Linked DNA regions of Homo sapiens: region 1 is linked to region 2. The links are contacts of gene promoters, found by promoter capture Hi-C in blood cells and fetal thymus (Javierre and others, 2016). All regions are on one chromosome and are shown on one strand. The core of a region is centred on a gene start or on the middle of the fragment in contact, and the rest is flanking DNA. Distances in the headings are between cores, read along the strand shown.

Region 1 (6,204 bases), core at 1-2,500, 550 kb before region 2:
TATTTTGTACAATAGAGGACTGTAACTACTATTTAGGTTGTACAGATTGAAATTTAGTTGTTTCATTGGCTGTCTGAGGAGGTGTGGACTTTTATATATAGATCTACATAAAAACTGCTACATGACAAAAACCACACCTAAAGAAATTTTAAGAATTTGGCACAGTTACTCACTTTGTGTAATCTGAAATCTAGCTGCTGAATACGCTGAAGTAAATCCTTGTTCACTGAAGTCTTTCAATTGAGCTGGTTGAATACTTTGAAAAATGCTCAGTTCTAACTAATGAAATGGATTTCCCAGTAGGGGTTTCTGCATATCACCTGTATAGTAGTTATATGCATATGTTTCTGTGCATGTTCTCTACACAATTGTAAGGTGTCACTGTATTTAACTGTTGCACTTGTCAACTTTCAATAAAGCATATAAATGTTGATAAACAAGTGTTTTTCATATGACCCTGTTAACATAATGGCAGTCATTTCCACAACTGTTTCCAGGTAAAGTTAACAATTTGACTAGTAAAATCCTGAAGGGCAGTGGAATGATTGGAAAAGTAGGGGCGTGATTTGACTGCATGAAGTAAAAGGAAATTGACACATTGAGTTGTTCAGCAGGTAAGAGAAGAGACAGTGGAGGAGTCCAGCTCAATTCTAACTACTGTGTGACTTGGACAGGTTGCTTCACTCCTGGACGGATGTAGGGGTTTGAAAGAGATGATCTCTTACATTCCCCTTTGGCTTTAAAATTCTAGGAGTCCTTGAAAATCTTAATTTTTTACTGAACTGAGAGGAAGAAGGAGCCTTATTCTGTGTATAATTGGAATAAGCAGATCTAGGATCAAAAGACGGAAGTTGGAGAAGCTGATTTCCACTTTAAGAACCCTGTCACCCTGGGTTGGGATGTTTCTCCTAGTGTAGGATGAGTTTCTAGCTCCTGGGATAATTCGTTTTGTCTAAGCAAAAGATGATTTGAGGTGGGACCAGATGAGCAAGGATGTCCTTGCAGTTGATTCTGCATGACTATAAAACAGGCCAAAATTAAAACCACGAAGGAATCCTGAGGCAGATTGGCCCCTGGCACCTGAGGAGTGAGCCTGAGGGATCCCACTCTGCAGTAGGAGTAACGTGAGCGAGCAAGTGAATGGGGTGGGTTTACCGGCTCTGTAATCTATCAACCTAGGGCCTCAGCAGTGGCCCCCTGCCCAGTAGGAATTGGACCAATCCCAAGTTCTAAGGCTTGTCTTAAGTCCTTGCAGAACAAGGACAAACTTTCTGAATCATTCATTTCTCTCATCTAGAGCTGGTGGGAGATTGAGAGGTGAATGGGACATCCAAGATCCCTAAAAAGAATTGTTCGATAGCGTGCATGTGTTATAAAGTGGTGACACGGGCATCCTGTTGAAATGATGGATGGCTCACTGCCATAGGCTGATAGCAGTTGTCATAAAGATATTTTGGGGGAATTTGAAAAGGACGTAAAGAAAAATCTTTCATATTGGCTTGTTGGTTATATAACTTCAAATTTAATAAAGGAATACTTACGTAGTAATTACATTTCCTTGAAAAAACTATAGTGAATAGAAATCCCTAGCCATTTCATTTTTTATGTTTTTAATGAAGATCTTTAAAATACCATAGGTGGTAATCGTGGAAAATTTGAAAAATCTCATGTCAGTGTATTAAGATGGTGGAGAAGTTTTTTTCTCCATTATTTAATGGAACTTTGGGTCTTTTTATTAAAAATGTGAGACTCATGAAATTTTGGCAGCTGAATATTTGTGAAATAAGAATGAATTATTAAAAGATGTCTTTCCATACATGTTCCTCATTTTAGTAATTACTAAACATACTTGAGATGATTGACTTATATTTAAACATATTTAAGGTAATTTAAAAAGGCATTTTGCTACTTGCTTATAGACCTGAGTGTAGGTCTTATTGGCCTGTGGGTTATTATATAACTGATTATGTTGCACTTATGTTCTGTGGAGAAGGAAAGATTTTTAAGGGGAATGGCATGCTGTACCAGCACTGAGTGTTCATGACATCAGTTGCAGCAGGAGAAACCCCCGTTCAATGAAGGAGAAGTAGGAATTTTACATGGATTTGAATGAACGTCTACTTTGTATTTCAAATGAACAGTGTTCATATTTCAGTAATTGTGTGCATTTTTTGCATACTTTAAAAGAGAACTTTTATTTTTCATTATGGAATAAATATGCAATGCCAGAACAGCTTTAAATTTATACAAGAAATGTATAAAAGTTAATTATAACTAAAATTAGGAATGAAAATTAATCTATATAGACACTACTCTGCTCTTGCTTTGTGTAAAATAAGTAGTTGAAACTACCAGGGGCTGACAACATGACTGCTTTTAGATGTCAACTTCAAATCCATTCAGGCAGCAATTGTGGCATTACGATTTTTAGAAATGGAGGCAGAGAAAATCAAGTTTCCTCTCCCTCTTAGGTAACATTGCCTGCAAGTGGAGATCTGTGCCCACCGATAGAACTTGGAAGCAGACAGTGCCATAGGTTCCTGCACTGGTGTGTGGGAGGACCCTGAGCTGAGAGGCAGGCTTCTGGCTGCTAGGCCTGGCCCTGCAGTCATCAGCTGTTTGACCTTTGGACCAGGAATGGAATCCTTCAGACCTGAGTTCTCACCTGTGAAATAAGGATTGGATCAGGTCACAAAGATCCTGTCTTGCCACAGATGCTACAGTCCTCTGCATCTGATAATGACTTTATTTTATTCTTCGAACTTTTGGTGGGAGGGTGTGTGTGTGTGTGTGTGCGTGCACTGTTTTTGTTTATTCATTTAACTTAATGGCTAAAATTAATTTGGTTTTAATCCTAGCTCCTCTGCTAGTTACTAGCTAAGTGACCTCAGGCAAGTTCCTTGTTGTTCTCTGTTTCCTCATGCTTAAAATGGGGACATGCTATCTCCATAGGGGTTTTGGGAGGCTGATGCTGGGAAGCTGTCAGCACAGAGACAGTTCAGAGTGAGGTGGGTTCAAGGAGTGTTAACCATTACTATTATTTCTGAGTCATTCATCTGCTTGTTTATGTTTGTTTATATATTTAATTTTGTATTTTTCATAGGGATAAAGGTGTGGCAGCTTTATTTTCTAATAGCTTTTGATTTAGTATTTGGTAATAGTAGTGACTGTTTAAACTTTACTGTGAAAACACACATGGGAATAATGTCCTTTAGAATACAGATAGAAACACACCGTTTTTTTCTGTATCAAAGAAATAATAGCAAAAGGCTGCATTTCATTTCTGTGAATTAGAGAAGGGATTCGTTGGGAATTGTCCATGTTTCAGTGTCCAATATTTTCGGTACTACAGAAATAATATTGGTGGAAGGAAATGATTACAGGTGGAGTATATATATATCTTAAATTATTAATTTCATTACAGAAAAAGGTTCTATGTAAACCAGTGCTATGGAATGCCAGGCAGGCCTGAAGTCGCTAGGCTTGGAGATCAGGTTCTGGCAACAGCTACTTGGAAGGTTCAGTAGCCATTTAAAAATGTGCAGTATTACAACAGAGGTCTGTGCTTTAGACCAGGTGTTCAGGACCCCAGTGTCTGTCGGATATGGTGGAGAAGCTTCTTGAGTGAGTAGGGTAAGCAGTAGGACATGGTAGTGACTGTGGCAGTTGGGGAGTGTGCTCAGCTAACAGGGACAGTGCTATGTAGCTCCATCCAGTTGCCATATGGGAATTCAAGCACTGTGTTGCTTGATCTTCCAATTTCTTCCAAGTTCCATAAATCCAGGATTCTGTCTGGAAATGCCTGACTTTTGGACACTGCACAGACCAAATAAGAGAGCACACCTACTAAGCTGGTTTGGCCCACAGGCCACATGTGTCCCCTCCGCCTTCTGTCGTCTGACTGTCTCAAGAACTAGAATCTGCCCTAAATGGCAGCTCACCACCCTTCAGCTCAAAATAAATCAGGAAAATCTCTTCTTTTTGATGAGAGAAAGGGGGCACAGGCTATTTGTGTGACTATGGTGCACAGTAAACTGGTACTTTGTGTTGAAAACCATGTGTTAACTTACTCAGAGAACATTTACTGAGTACCTGCTAGAAGCCAGAGATAGTGTAGTGAATGAGCCACAGTCCCTGTCCCCAAGGACAGTTCACATAAGCTGTCTTTAAGATAAATGAGGTAGTTTGTTTTCTGGCAAAATTTGCCTTATGCAATATAATATCTGAATTATTCATTTGTTGTTCCTTCTCAGACGAACCCTTTGGCAGAAATATTTCTGGGAATTCTTCTAGGAACTCTTGTTAAATGAGTAGTGTTTTTCAATGCGGTATATCCCCTACCACTACATTTTATAGCTGATTCATTTAGGAACAAAGACCATGTTTGTAGATGTGTATCACCAAGGTTATATAACACATGACCCAAATTTTCAGGGACACATATATTTCAGTTACAATAATCTGCCCTGTTGTCTCATAAGTGCATCCAATTCATGCCCTGATAAGTGGTTTGTAGTCACTGTAGATTCAGAGACCAAGAAAACAGAAGAGGTAGTGTCTCTACTTAAACAGTGAGACTTAGTGTCTCTACTTAAACTGGTTTTCCCAGGACTGAGGGTGTTCTGAGTAGTGGAACTTTCAATGTCACATCCATGAAAGTCCCAGGCAAACTGCGACAAGCTGGTTGCCTAAGATTCCATTTTCTATTCCACTTGGGCACACGCCTGAATTACATCTCCCCGCCCCCTTGGAGTTAGGAGTGACCGTGGGACTCAGGTTTAGTCAGTGGATGAGTGATGAAGTAACTGAAGCCCCCCAGGCTTGGCCCATGAGAAAACCATTCTCAGTGATCTGCCAGGCTCCTTCTCCTTCCACTGATGGGATGGAGAAGACCCGGCAACCTTGGGAGTGACAGAGCCTTTGTCAGCTGGATCCCTGAATGACCGAAGTATAGTGCCCTCCCCCACGAACCAGGCAGCATATTTGGATGAGCAAGAGTGTTGCCGCCATTAGGCATTTTAAAATTAGCTTCAGTGGCTAACCTTTGCTAATATGGTTATCAGTACCTGAAGTGGAGTGATGTCAAAAAAACCTTAAATATGGGGCATTGACTATGGTTGGCTGGTGGTGGGTGGTGATGAAACTAGTGGAGGCTAGAGAGATCAAGACCCATATTGTGAAGTGACAAAATGTTTTCTAAAACTGTGGCCAGCAATAACTTAGAAGGCTGGCCATGTGCCTGGTGTGCACGTAGCTGGTACAAGAATGTTAGGACCTTTCACTCTTCACTGTGTTACTCCTCTGATGTTTTTCAGGGAAAAGGTGAGCTCACAAAAGAATTAGTTTGTAAGTACAAAGGAAAGGGAAAAAGAAATGCAGAAATTTGGGGCTATTTGATACTGGAAAAGCCTATTGCTTCTACACCCCAAGGAGCTGGAAATCAGTAGGGCCCATTAAGCCTTTTCAGTTAAGGTGCTTTATCCCTTCAGCAAAGAGTAGACAAAGGGTATTAATTCCCCATATATGCCTTTTGTTTCAGATGACTTCTGCATGGTCACTGTCCAGTGGATAGAGGTAGGGGAGCAGAAGTACAGGCATGTGCAGAAGAATGTTTTAGGTCTTGCTACTGATAACATTAAAATGACTGGAAACAGAGAAGGGAGAAGCTTACTAAGTTTTTGAAGAACATTTACTACCAAGTAAATCACCAGCCAACCCAGACTTAATAACAGCAAGAAAACTTTGTTGAAACCTTCAAACAACCCTCAGGCCCCCCCAACACTGGCAGGAGATGGAAGTGGGTGAAGTGGGAGCCTAAAGCTGTCTAGCTCCCAGGAAGAGCATTATCTCCAACATCCATTTCATACATGGCCCTGGGGGATACTGGACAAGAAAAGCCTCCCAGAGGTAAGAGGCCTGCAGTTTTAGAGAACAATGCACCAAGGGTTTCTTCCCAGAGAATAGAATCATGGTCTAATGGGAGAGCTTCCCCTATTGCCAGGGCAAAGGGATCTTCTCAATGCCTGCCCAACAGGATTTCCTAATAGCTGAGGGCTGGAGCCTACTGTGTGTTTCCTATGCTTCCAATGGGAGGTTTATTGCAATTATTATGCTGCACTCCACCATTGTGCATTGTCAGTGGAAGGGAAGATAATTTGTCTTAGATTACAGATCACCAGACCTTAAGGAGCCACCACATTCAGA
Region 2 (5,973 bases), core at 2,986-5,485:
ATGAGTAAAATTCTAAATGTTTAATTAAGTATACTTACCAGCGTGAGCAACCCCACATGCTTTTTTGACTGGATCTGCAAAAACTATCGGTATACAGTCTGCACCAAGAGCTGCTATTGTGACTCCTCTCTGATTTGTGGTTATTCCATCATAAGAGTCAGGCTCCTTTCTTCCCATAATCCAGATGTCATTGGAATGATGAGTCTAATACCAAAAATGTGCAACAAAAATGTTTTGGAAATAGTATTTCTTATACCATAAGCTTTCTCGAAGGTACTCATTGTAGTATAAAATTATATAACCAGTTTAAGATTACTAGCATTCATTAAATATATCACTTTTATATATGGGAAAACACAAAATTTACTTATAATTTAACTATTTAAGATTTTAGATTATAATCTCTGATAGTTTATGCAAAGAAAAGCAGAGTTTAACATTATAAAATTCAATATAGTGAATAATGAACATCTTTCCATAAAGATAGGTATATCATTTCTTATAGCACTTTCTACAAAATGAAAATTTTTCTTGTAAAGGAAAGTTAATTAACAAATCAATGATACTTTTACTTTTCCAAGACTCAAGTAAAGCTAGAATTCTGTAAGGAACAAGACATTATCTCATCAACTATGACCCTAGTTCCTCCTGGAGTAGATTTATAAAATAATGGCCTTTCTCTACCACCATTCAGTTCCCTTTCTTCTAAATCAAAAAGAGCAGTGGTAGTATACTCTCTGAGAATTAACTGTACTTTTAGAATTGAGGACTCCAGATGAAATATACAGTAGGCTCTTGAATAATGTCATTTTATTCCACATCATTTCATTATAATGTTAATGAAAAAAATTGATTACCCACCCGGTCACTGACTGTGTGAGGTTTGCACCTTCTCCTCACGTCCACATGGGTTTTCTCTGGGTACTCCAGCTTCCTCCCACATCCCAAAGAAGTGCATGTTAGATGAATTGGGGTGTCTACATGGTCCCAGCATGAGTACGTGTGTGTGTGTGTAAGGGCACCCTGCAATGGAATGGTGTCCTGTCGAGGGTGGGTTGTGGCCTTGCATCCTGATCTGCCAGAATAGACTCCAGCTACCTAAAGCCCTGAACCGAAATAATTTGGTAGTTATCTTATTTGTCTTTCTTACTGTTTTGTAAATATATGTCTAGCTCACATTTATTTCAATGTTTAATACTAGGAATGTGTTGGTCTTTATTTAGAAGTTTGGTGATGTTTTTGTGACAAGAAATATGCCTTAGAAACTTTATTCTTATTTATATCAATTAGCCTATGGTAAAATTGGTTTTATTATGTCGTTTCACTTAAAGTCACAATTTCTAAGAACCTATCAACATTAAAGGATGACTTACTATATGTGTGTGTGCATATATATATATATATATATATCTGCACGTGTGTGTGTGTGTGTATAAAATAGAACTTATCTTTAGGCTATGGTGTATAAATCTAAGAAAGACAACCACAGCATTATTCTAAAACTTTAGATAAAAAAGCAGATACAAAAGTTAAATAGCTTAAAGTCCATGTAGTTACTAGCAAAGTAAAAAATATACTTTAGATCTTTCAAAATATAAAGCAAAATTTTACCTTTATTCGGTAAAATTTCTCCACATTAAATCCTGCAGCATTCGCCAACCTACGCAGATTTTCTTGAACCACTACCTTGGGATCTCTCCGTTTGGAACTACTGAAGAGATTGAATGAGCTAAGAGTTGGTATATAAGATATCCCACCTGTTCTTGTAGTAAATCCATGTATGAAAATATCTGTTGAAGATAAGCAGTGAAGATTTAAAAGATGCTATTCAAAATACCAGTCTCTCAATTAGACCTTCCCTGATCACTGCTACCTGCCCTTGTTATTTGGCTTCTAATTTCTATGGCATTTTGTACCTCCATATGTTCTTATGGCATTCTGCTTTGTGTTTGTTTTACACTCCCTATGAGATTGTTGCTCTTCAAAAGGTATATTGTGTCTCATCTGGCTTTGTTATATCTAATAGCATATAGCTCACAGAAAATACTGTTTAACCAAGAAGTAAGATTGATTGTTTTAAATTTTACTCTTCTATGAAGGTGCCAATGATTTGAAATTTCAGAATTTCTAAATAGAAGATTTTCAGTGTCATAAATCTCATTGCAAAGGAGGGCTAGATTATTTGTCTCATCATCAAATTTTTGTAAAGCAAATTTATTTATTTGGGGTGGCTTTGAAGGCTTTATCCCTTGACACCCCTGATACTACAGGGCCAAACATGACACCTCTGTGTTGCCACTGATGCTAATGAGTAATCAGCCCACAACAGTCAACAAAAGAAAGGAGGAAAAAAAGAGGTGAACTACCTCTGAAGAAAGACTAGTTTTCCATGTACAAAGTAAAAACAACAGTTAGTGGTTAATATACCTGGGATCAAAGAAGAAGTGATAATAGTTAATTTTCCTCTCAGTGCTGGCAGACTTCTCAAAAATGTTTCTATTTCATTCTGAATTCCTCTTAGTTCTTGAGCTGTGATTACGTTTATTTCAATGGACTGTTTAAAAAGCCCTCCCCTAAAAGTCACTTGCAAATCTTCAAATTCAAAATTGTAAACATCAGTGAAGAGTTGATCAATAAAAGCTTTCATTAATGTCTTCCTGTGCCTGGGTACAATTACCTTAATGCTGCTCAGATTTTTTTCATCAATTTTCTGTTTAATGGTATACAAAGTGGCAGCCATGCTGGGACAGCTAACAATCTCAAATTCTTCCAAGAGAGCTGATAATCCATTGCTTGTTTCTATTTCACAATTATCTTGTTCTCCATCCCTTTCATAGCTGATGTTACTGCAACACATTATACAGAGAAACTTGGCCTTGGCAGCATGGTGGTATTGGACAGCATTCAAAGTCTTCAGTAATGTCTGATGGCAGTTTTTTTGAGAGTTCAATTTCAAACCAAAAAGATCAATCAAAACAGCTTCTGCCATCCTTGAAAGAATACTTTTATGCCAAATAAATCACCTGCAAATAAAAATTAGTGTAAGAATATAAGATTATATAAATCTTATAGTTACAACAGAAATTTGTGGTAGATTAAAAACGAAGTAATTACACTGATTTTAAAATGTAACTAAAATAGTAAATCTAGGCCCCTCCCAGAAAAGCCAGTCTACTCTGTCACAACAGAACCATGACAGTGAAAGCAAAGCCATCTTTTAATTCGTTTTGTGAAAATGCTGGTACATCTTTCCAGCAGCACGACAGTTCCTCTGTTTTGTTTACACAGAACTTTTGAGTAAGGAATTACTTGTGGAGTTTAGACAAAGTCCTGTTTTTAAATTGCAGAGTGTCAACCTGTGTGATATATCATTAGTCCTGACATGATTGTCATATTAGGTCTCATCCTTTCATATGCGGGGGCTTAAGTTTACGAAGCTAAATGGAGCTGCACGCGAAATTCGCGTTTTAAGATGATAAAAGCTGAGATGGCTAATAGAGTTCCCTTCAGGATTTGCGCAGTACTCCACACTTAGCAATGACCACAAAAGCTATAGTGATTTGGATGAGACAGGCTTCCTCTCAACTTTCTTAATTCATTCTCCCCGTGCAGCTTTGCTCACCTCCAGCCCAGCCCTCCCACCCCAACCTGCGGGGCTCCGGTGACCCCCTTTGGTGACGCCCTTTGCCCCAAGAAGGTTTTCTCCTGCCGCTTCCCCTAACCTTTGCTCCCCATCTCTCGGGGCTCCCTCTGAGGTTCATTTAGCCAGTTTTGAGTGGGTGACCGTCCCCCCTTCCCTGTTCATTGTGAATTTCCGCCCAACGTGTGTCGCCGCCAGGTCCCTGTTCCTCCTACCCGCCTCGGCTCACGGGGCGCAGGCTGTGGCTCTGCACCTGCCCGGGCACCTCCACCGGCGGCTCACAGCCCATTCGGGACTTCCTGTCGGACAACGCACACCAGAGGCGATTCGGTCCTCGCCTTCCCGCTCTTCACCTTCGGTTGCACACCGGTCTACGGCGACCTCTGTGACAATTTGCCGCCCCGTCCCTCGTCCTGAGCCTCAACGAAATTGGGCAGCCGCGAGCGGGTCAGCTGGAGTCGTAAGCTCGGCCCAGCGCGACGACACCCGCCCCGCCTCACCTCGCCCACCTCGCCCACCTCGCCCCGCCTCGCCTCGCCCCGCCTCGCCCCGCCTCACCTCGCCCCCCTCGCCCACCTCGCCCCGCCTCACCTCACCTACCTCGCCGCGGCCGCACAGATTCCCCGCCTGATACCGTCCCAGGATCCCAGGGGAAACCTGACGGCCAGGTTCCCTCGTGCCAGCTGCCGGGAGGCGGGAGGGAGGTAGGCCAGGGCCGCCTGGCGTGCTTGGTGCGAACGCGGCGGGCCCAGCGCGAGAGCTGGGGAATCCCGGGATGAGCCAAGCGCCGCGAGCCCGCTGCTGCCTCAGCAGTTCCGGGTCTGGGCGGTCCGCGGAGTCGGCATCCCGCAGCCCCGGCGGCGTTAGAGGAACAGGAACCAGAGCCGCGCGAGGGCTCTCGCCCGGGAGCCAGGCGGGTTAGCGGGCAGGAGTGGGCAGGCCGAGTCCGGAAAGGGTCGCGAGGAGGCAGCTAGGGGCCCCTTGAGGAGGGATAGGGCGGCGGAACGACGGGCCCTGGGAGCGGGCGCAGGGCGGCAGGAGCTGCAGGTCTCCAGAGGGCACGGGGCGGGGAACTAGGGGCCCGGTTAGAAAGCCGGGCGGCGGGAACGGCGGGCACCGTGAGGGGGCGGCGGGAATGGTGGGTCGCGTGAGGCCGGGCTGCTGGAGCGACCTCGGGACTAAACCGCAGTCTCCCTTCTGCTAATGGAAGCCGTTTCCCAAGCGAGCTGAAGTCCGCGTTTCCGGTCTCTGAGGGACGCCTCGCTGACCCAGCAGTGTGGTCAGGACGCTGGGTTTCCTCACCGCAGCCCAGGGCCAGTCCCTTGTCATGCTAGCTCTTGGCAGCTTTTCCCATGCAGGGCTCAAGTCAGGGGCCCCCTCGAGATGTTTTAGTGTTTTTTTGTTGTTCATTTGTTTCCAGAAACAAGCTGTTGTCTCTCCTCCAATGTCTTTGTGCTGATTCTTGCTGACCAACACTCTTCCGAGCGCCTTCACTTGTGTTGACAACACGGATGTCCTCTATGGCCTTTTAAAATATGTGCCACTAGCAGGACTTAAGTAAAAGGCGCTCATCCCTAAAATCATGATAAAGGTGCAGTTTAGCATCCCTGATCTGTCCTCCAAGAATATAACGTTCATTTATTTGAAAATAGCAGTTAGGACATGGAAGGCCAGTGTATGGTAAAGGGAAAAAATATCCGACCTTCCAAGAGTAAGAGAAATGGTGCTTCCTGGGGAACTGGTTATGATGGAAGGAGAGGTCCCTTTTATCTTCATTGTTGCTCATTTGGTAGGCGCTAAAGAACCTTTGTCTCATAATCTCAGATAGCTGGGAATTTGGAAGAGCCCTCTGGGGTAGGCATGTTCTTGTGCTTGACTAGAGACTGGGAGCACTAACCCAGAATGGAAACCCACCCTTCAATAACCCTAGCACCAGTTATGTCAAAATTCATGTTTTCTTTGGTCATTTGTTAAAGAGCCCCGAGCGGTAGATGGTACACCCAATCAGAAGGTGCACTCTGCCCTGAGTTTGTTTATGTTAAATATCATTAGATTGGTGCAAAGGTAATTGCGGTTTTTGCCATTGACAAAGACCACAATTACTTTTGCACCAGCTTAATACCTCAAGCAAAACAGAGGTCTTTTAGTTACAAAGGTTTTAAACATTTATCTCTGTTTTTACAATGGTGGGATTCGTATTCTTTCATGCAAAAGTAGTGGCAGTAAAAAAAAAATGAAAAAGAAAATATTTCAAAAGAATGAAGTTGTCAGGGAAGAGAGTTTGTTATATTGTATTTGCATACCATTTCCTTTCACCATCTGGTCCTAGTGTC

Evidence for each region. The method cuts DNA at HindIII sites, captures the fragments that hold promoters and counts their contacts. A CHiCAGO score of 5 or more calls a contact.
Region 1: a fragment that was not itself captured here is called in contact with the fragment with the promoter of CCDC122 in region 2 in 7 of 17 cell types (non-activated CD4 T cells, monocytes, total CD8 T cells and 4 more); the score reaches 9.0 in non-activated CD4 T cells.

What each region holds. Positions count from the first base shown.
Region 1 is chr13:44,427,755-44,433,958 of GRCh38, reverse strand. TSC22D1 (TSC22 domain family member 1) reads left to right here. Exons shown (of 3, transcript NM_183422.4): 3 at 1-1,816. Among named protein-coding and RNA genes, the nearest start is that of TUSC8, 25 kb to the right of the region's middle. The HindIII fragment of the contact is 4,737 bases long and covers 1-3,618 here.
Region 2 is chr13:43,878,002-43,883,974 of GRCh38, reverse strand. It overlaps CCDC122 (coiled-coil domain containing 122), which reads left to right and starts at 4,235. Exons shown (of 7, transcript NM_144974.5): 1 at 4,235-4,344. LACC1 (laccase domain containing 1) reads right to left here and starts at 4,071. Exons shown (of 7, transcript NM_153218.4): 1 at 3,856-4,071; 2 at 2,428-3,023; 3 at 1,612-1,790; 4 at 39-204. The coding sequence starts at 2,989. RefSeq lists a silencer at 4,184-4,333. The HindIII fragment of the contact is 5,095 bases long and covers 2,643-5,973 here.